Regions from separate parts of the Homo sapiens genome. Here region 1 is linked to region 2. Evidence: promoter capture Hi-C in 16 types of primary human blood cells and fetal thymus (Javierre and others, 2016). All regions are on one chromosome and are shown on one strand. Each heading gives the region's core, a stretch centred on a gene start or on the middle of the fragment in contact. The rest is flanking DNA. Distances are from core to core; before and after follow the strand shown.

Evidence for each region. The method cuts DNA at HindIII sites, captures the fragments that hold promoters and counts their contacts. A CHiCAGO score of 5 or more calls a contact.
Region 1: a contact is called between a fragment that was not itself captured here and the fragment with the promoter of DUSP22 in region 2, in 8 of 17 cell types (total B cells, M2 macrophages, naive B cells and 5 more). The highest score is 13.0, in total B cells.

Annotation. Positions count from the first base shown.
Region 1 is chr6:408,733-411,674 of GRCh38, forward strand. It overlaps IRF4 (interferon regulatory factor 4), which reads left to right. Exons shown (of 9, transcript NM_002460.4): 9 at 1-2,711. Among named protein-coding and RNA genes, the nearest start is that of IRF4, 18 kb to the left of the region's middle. RefSeq lists enhancers at 1,396-1,485, 1,906-2,055. The HindIII fragment of the contact is 2,051 bases long and covers 467-2,517 here.
Region 2 is chr6:291,237-294,255 of GRCh38, forward strand. DUSP22 (dual specificity phosphatase 22) reads left to right here and starts at 1,251. Exons shown (of 7, transcript NM_001286555.3): 1 at 1,251-1,324. The coding sequence starts at 1,304. RefSeq lists enhancers at 214-503, 430-930, 931-1,431, 1,724-1,983 and silencers at 614-1,633, 2,378-2,534, 2,414-2,473, 2,484-2,543. The HindIII fragment of the contact is 6,707 bases long and covers 1-3,019 here.

The sequences.
Region 1 (2,942 bases), core at 242-2,741, 120 kb after region 2:
CACTAAAGGAGGAGGAGCCGGGGACTCCCAGGCTGGAGAGCACTGCCAGGACCCACCACTGGAAGCAGGATGGAGCTGACTACGGAACTGCACACTCAGTGGGCTGTTTCTGCTTATTTCATCTGTTCTATGCTTCCTCGTGCCAATTATAGTTTGACAGGGCCTTAAAATTACTTGGCTTTTTCCAAATGCTTCTATTTATAGAATCCCAAAGACCTCCACTTGCTTAAGTATACCTATCACTTACATTTTTGTGGTTTTGAGAAAGTACAGCAGTAGACTGGGGCGTCACCTCCAGGCCGTTTCTCATACTACAGGATATTTACTATTACTCCCAGGATCAGCAGAAGATTGCGTAGCTCTCAAATGTGTGTTCCTGCTTTTCTAATGGATATTTTAAATTCATTCAACAAGCACCTAGTAAGTGCCTGCTGTATCCCTACATTACACAGTTCAGCCTTTATCAAGCTTAGTGAGCAGTGAGCACTGAAACATTATTTTTTAATGTTTAAAAAGTTTCTAATATTAAAGTCAGAATATTAATACAATTAATATTAATATTAACTACAGAAAAGACAAACAGTAGAGAACAGCAAAAAAATAAAAAGGATCTCCTTTTTTCCCAGCCCAAATTCTCCTCTCTAAAAGTGTCCACAAGAAGGGGTGTTTATTCTTCCAACACATTTCACTTTTCTGTAAATATACATAAACTTAAAAAGAAAACCTCATGGAGTCATCTTGCACACACTTTCATGCAGTGCTCTTTGTAGCTAACAGTGAAGATTTACCTCGTTCTGCTCAGAGGCCTTGCTGTGGAGCTCCACTGCCATGTACCCAGTAGGGTTTGACATTTCATTAGCCATGCAACATGGATATGTATTGGGCAGCAGACTGTGTTTCGTGAACTGCAGTGATGTATACATCTTATAGATGCAAAGTATTTTGGGGTATATTATCCTAAGGGAAGATAAAGATGATATTAAGAACTGCTGTTTCACGGGGCCCTTACCTGTGACCCTCTTTGCTGAAGAATATTTAACCCCACACAGCACTTCAAAGAAGCTGTCTTGGAAGTCTGTCTCAGGAGCACCCTGTCTTCTTAATTCTCCAAGCGGATGCTCCATTTCAATTGCTTTGTGACTTCTTCTTCTTTGTTTTTTTAAATATTATGCTGCTTTAACAGTGGAGCTGAATTTTCTGGAAAATGCTTCTTGGCTGGGGCCACTACCTCCTTTCCTATCTTTACATCTATGTGTATGTTGACTTTTTAAAATTCTGAGTGATCCAGGGTATGACCTAGGGAATGAACTAGCTATGAAATACTCAGGGTTAGGAATCCTAGCACTTGTCTCAGGACTCTGAAAAGGAACGGCTTCCTCATTCCTTGTCTTGATAAAGTGGAATTGGCAAACTAGAATTTAGTTTGTACTCAGTGGACAGTGCTGTTGAAGATTTGAGGACTTGTTAAAGAGCACTGGGTCATATGGAAAAAATGTATGTGTCTCCCAGGTGCATTTCTTGGTTTATGTCTTGTTCTTGAGATTTTGTATATTTAGGAAAACCTCAAGCAGTAATTAATATCTCCTGGAACACTATAGAGAACCAAGTGACCGACTCATTTACAACTGAAACCTAGGAAGCCCCTGAGTCCTGAGCGAAAACAGGAGAGTTAGTCGCCCTACAGAAAACCCAGCTAGACTATTGGGTATGAACTAAAAAGAGACTGTGCCATGGTGAGAAAAATGTAAAATCCTACAGTGAAATGAGCAGCCCTTACAGTATTGTTACCACCAAGGGCAGGTAGGTATTAGTGTTTGAAAAAGCTGGTCTTTGAGCGAGGGCATAAATACAGCTAGCCCCAGGGGTGGAACAACTCTGGGAGTCTTGGGTACTCGCACCTCTTGGCTTTGTTGATGCTCCGCCAGGAAGGCCACTTGTGTGTGCGTGTCAGTTACTTTTTTAGTAACAATTCAGATCCAGTGTAAACTTCCGTTCATTGCTCTCCAGTCACATGCCCCCACTTCCCCACAGGTGAAAGTTTTTCTGAAAGTGTTGGGATTGGTTAAGGTCTTTATTTGTATTACGTATCTCCCCAAGTCCTCTGTGGCCAGCTGCATCTGTCTGAATGGTGCGTGAAGGCTCTCAGACCTTACACACCATTTTGTAAGTTATGTTTTACATGCCCCGTTTTTGAGACTGATCTCGATGCAGGTGGATCTCCTTGAGATCCTGATAGCCTGTTACAGGAATGAAGTAAAGGTCAGTTTTTTTTTGTATTGATTTTCACAGCTTTGAGGAACATGCATAAGAAATGTAGCTGAAGTAGAGGGGACGTGAGAGAAGGGCCAGGCCGGCAGGCCAACCCTCCTCCAATGGAAATTCCCGTGTTGCTTCAAACTGAGACAGATGGGACTTAACAGGCAATGGGGTCCACTTCCCCCTCTTCAGCATCCCCCGTACCCCACTTTCTGCTGAAAGAACTGCCAGCAGGTAGGACCCCAGAGGCCCCCAAATGAAAGCTTGAATTTCCCCTACTGGCTCTGCGTTTTGCTGAGATCTGTAGGAAAGGATGCTTCACAAACTGAGGTAGATAATGCTATGCTGTCGTTGGTATACATCATGAATTTTTATGTAAATTGCTCTGCAAAGCAAATTGATATGTTTGATAAATTTATGTTTTTAGGTAAATAAAAACTTTTAAAAATTTGTTATGGAATGTGTGTGTGTGTTATTAAACATGCATCCTGATAGCTTTTAAAGCACTTTCTCCTGCGGTTACGTTCCTTCAGAGAGGCTGCTGTACGTGTCTCTGAAATCAGATCTCCAAGTGTTCACCTTGTTAAAGAGACAAACGCTGGCCAAGTGCCGGGCTGCTCCTCCCACACAGAGGAGTGTCTGTGAAGAGTAATCATCCTGCTCTCCCGTTAGCATCTGCCTCCTCT
Region 2 (3,019 bases), core at 1-2,500:
GGCAGGTATGCAGAGAGCTGGGGATCCAGGTGTCTGGATAGAGAGCACAGCCCAGCAAGCCTGACAGGCTCAAGGAACAGACAGGAGACCAGCATGTGTGTAACTCGCTTAGCAAGAAGATAAAATGAAGTCAGCAGGGGTGAGCCAGGGCACGTCAGATTGACGCATGTACTCATTCAGCAAATATTTATTAAGCACCTACTATGTTCAGGACATTGTTGAGGATACATAAATTAAGAAGAAAAACCACTGGCTCAAGGATTCTGTCGCTGGAGAGAAACTTCAGAGTTTAATAACGTTGATAGAACACCCAAAACAATTCTGCTACAGTTTAGAAATTGATCCATTCCAGACAGAACCACAATGCAGACATTAAGGGACACACATCATCTAAGGCCGTGAGGTCTGAGGTCAGAGATCCAGCCATCTGCTCCCCCAGGGTAGGGAGGTCGGGCCTCCCCGGGGTGAGTCACGTAGCCCACCTCTCCCCACCAGGCGAGGCTTCTCGGTCTTGGTGCATGGGGCAGGGCCGCAGGAAATCCCCCAGCCTAAATCTGCCGCACTCAGAAAACCCAGGCAGGGGAGCCCCCAGAGACCAGGCCTCTGATTAGCACCTGATTCACGGAGGCAGCCAAGGCTGGGTAGCGACTGCTGGTAACTGGCCCCCGGAGTCGCCCCAGGGGAAAAGGCCAAAGGGGGATCTGGAGACCCCCGGCCGGGGAGCGGGCTCCGAGACGAGCGCAGCCGCCCGGTCAGGGCAGCGCCTGCGCGTCCGCCAGGCCCCGCCGCGCAGCCTCGGGTGTCCCGGCGGGGCGGCTCGGGCCGCGCACGCGCTCTGGCCTCCGGGGCCGGCCGCCTGGGAGCCCGAGCCTAGTGCCTCCCACGCCCGGCGGCCGCGAGCCGGGGTCCGCGAGGGCGGAGTGGGGCGCGGCAGCCAGGAACCCGACTACGAATCCCAGGGTGCGGGCGGGCGGAGCGAGGAGGGACGCTGGGCCTGCCCGGTGCGCACGGGGGCGGGGACCGGCAAGGCGGGACCATTTCCCGGCATAGGCTCCGGTGCCCCTGCCCGGCTCCCGCCGGGAAGTTCTAGGCCGCCGCACAGAAAGCCCTGCCCTCCACGCCGGGTCTCTGGAGCGCCCTGGGTTGCCCGGCCGGTCCCTGCCGCTGACTTGTTGACACTGCGAGCACTCAGTCCCTCCCGCGCGCCTCCTCCCCGCCCGCCCCGCCGCTCCTCCTCCCTGTAACATGCCATAGTGCGCCTGCGACCACACGGCCGGGGCGCTAGCGTTCGCCTTCAGCCACCATGGGGAATGGGATGAACAAGGTAACGTCTTCCCTCGTTCGCGCTGGGTTTGCCTCCGCTCCGACGCCCTGCCGTCTCGCCGGCGTCGGCTGCCCGACGACTCGAGCCCGGGGTGCCCTTTCCCGCGGTGGGGACGGGCGCGGAGGGAGGGGCGGCGCGCCTGGGCGGCGACCGCGGAGTCGGGGTTCGGAGGTGTTCCCGCCCCCACCCCACCCGGCTTCCGGGTAGGCAGCCCCCAGCCGCCTGCCTTGCCAGCCGGTGCGTTTTCGTGGCTGAAACAAGCCGCGCCCTTTGAAAGCGTTGACACTTGTTCTGCCGAGAGGTCAGCTGAGCTCCGAATGGATGTGGCTTCTTTTTTGCCCTCCTCTTCGCTCCCAAACTACGCTCTTGAAGCCACCACCGCCCCCCCCACATCATTAGTAAACGGGTGTCCTCTGTAATTTCCTCTTTCTCCTCAGATTCTGTGTGTGTGCCTGTGAGCACAGAGAAGTTTTTCTTGTGGACAGAGAAGTTAACAGAGTCCTAAGTCCTGAGCTGTTTCTAGATAGTGGGGAGGAGAGAAAAGATTCAGAGTTGATTAGGTTATGTGACTTCTGCAACAAGGGCAACCTGTTGCTGGCTGCTTGCGCTGATGAGGCCTTCTGGAAAATCTGTGTTGCTCCATTTGTCCCGTCCGTTTCTGGGCCCCACCCTGTGTTCTTTTGTTGCCCGCACCTCACTTCCCGGGCGGTGGGCTAGCCTTTCCCGTCCAGGGAAGTTGCCAGATTCCAGCTCTGGCAGCTGAGAGTTGCCGGGGTGTATTCATGTGAACCACAGGGTTAAGGATTTTGTTACTTGGTACTTGGCTGGTTTCGAGGAAGGATTGACAAGACTTTACAAAGCCCGCAACAAAGACAAGTACCTTTTTACGGGTCTTTGAATGGTCCTGGATTAGATGAGTCGTCTTTCTGCTTCACTTTTTCATTGCGCTCCACCCACCCACATCTCTACATGCCGTCAGCTTCCACACTGGGTGGGGATGGCAATGTGGCTGTGTTTTTTTTCATGTCCCTCAGCACTGGGTCAGCAGTGGTTTGGGTGTTGGGGCTGGAGTGTTGCAAATGCGGATTCACGGTAGGGCAGGGAAAACCTAGCTAACTTTTCACGTGCGCATGTCGTGTTTATTGTGTCCTGGTTACCCAGTTTGTGAAAGAACTATTGTGTGTTTGGGACCTGCATATCAATACTGGGGTATTTTGGTAAAGAGAATTGTATTCACTTTTTTTTTTTTTTTTTTTTTGGCGAGTGATCAAGTTTGGAAACAGACTGTCTCTCTCTTGGATAAATACTTGTATTATATTCCGATGAGCACTGGAATCCATCAGCACCACGAGCCTTCTGCTTTTTAAATTAAAACAGAACAATAAAGATGGTCATCATAAGTCTGTGGGCTCCGTTTGCCTTCCCATTGGTGGTGGTATCTCAGCTTTCCTTTGGCTGTTTCTAGTTTTCCCACTTGAGCTGTTCACTCTCCACCGTTTTCAGCATTTAATTTATAGTATTTGTGTAATACAATTCAAAAAATATATTTAGGAATACAGATGGTTGCCTAAGGGATCAACGTTATTTTCATGCTTTTCAACAAAAGCAGTAATATTCATATACTTTTTACCTTTCAAAATGGGTAATAAATTTCTTGACTTTTATTATCTTGTGAATAGAGACTCACAGTGTATC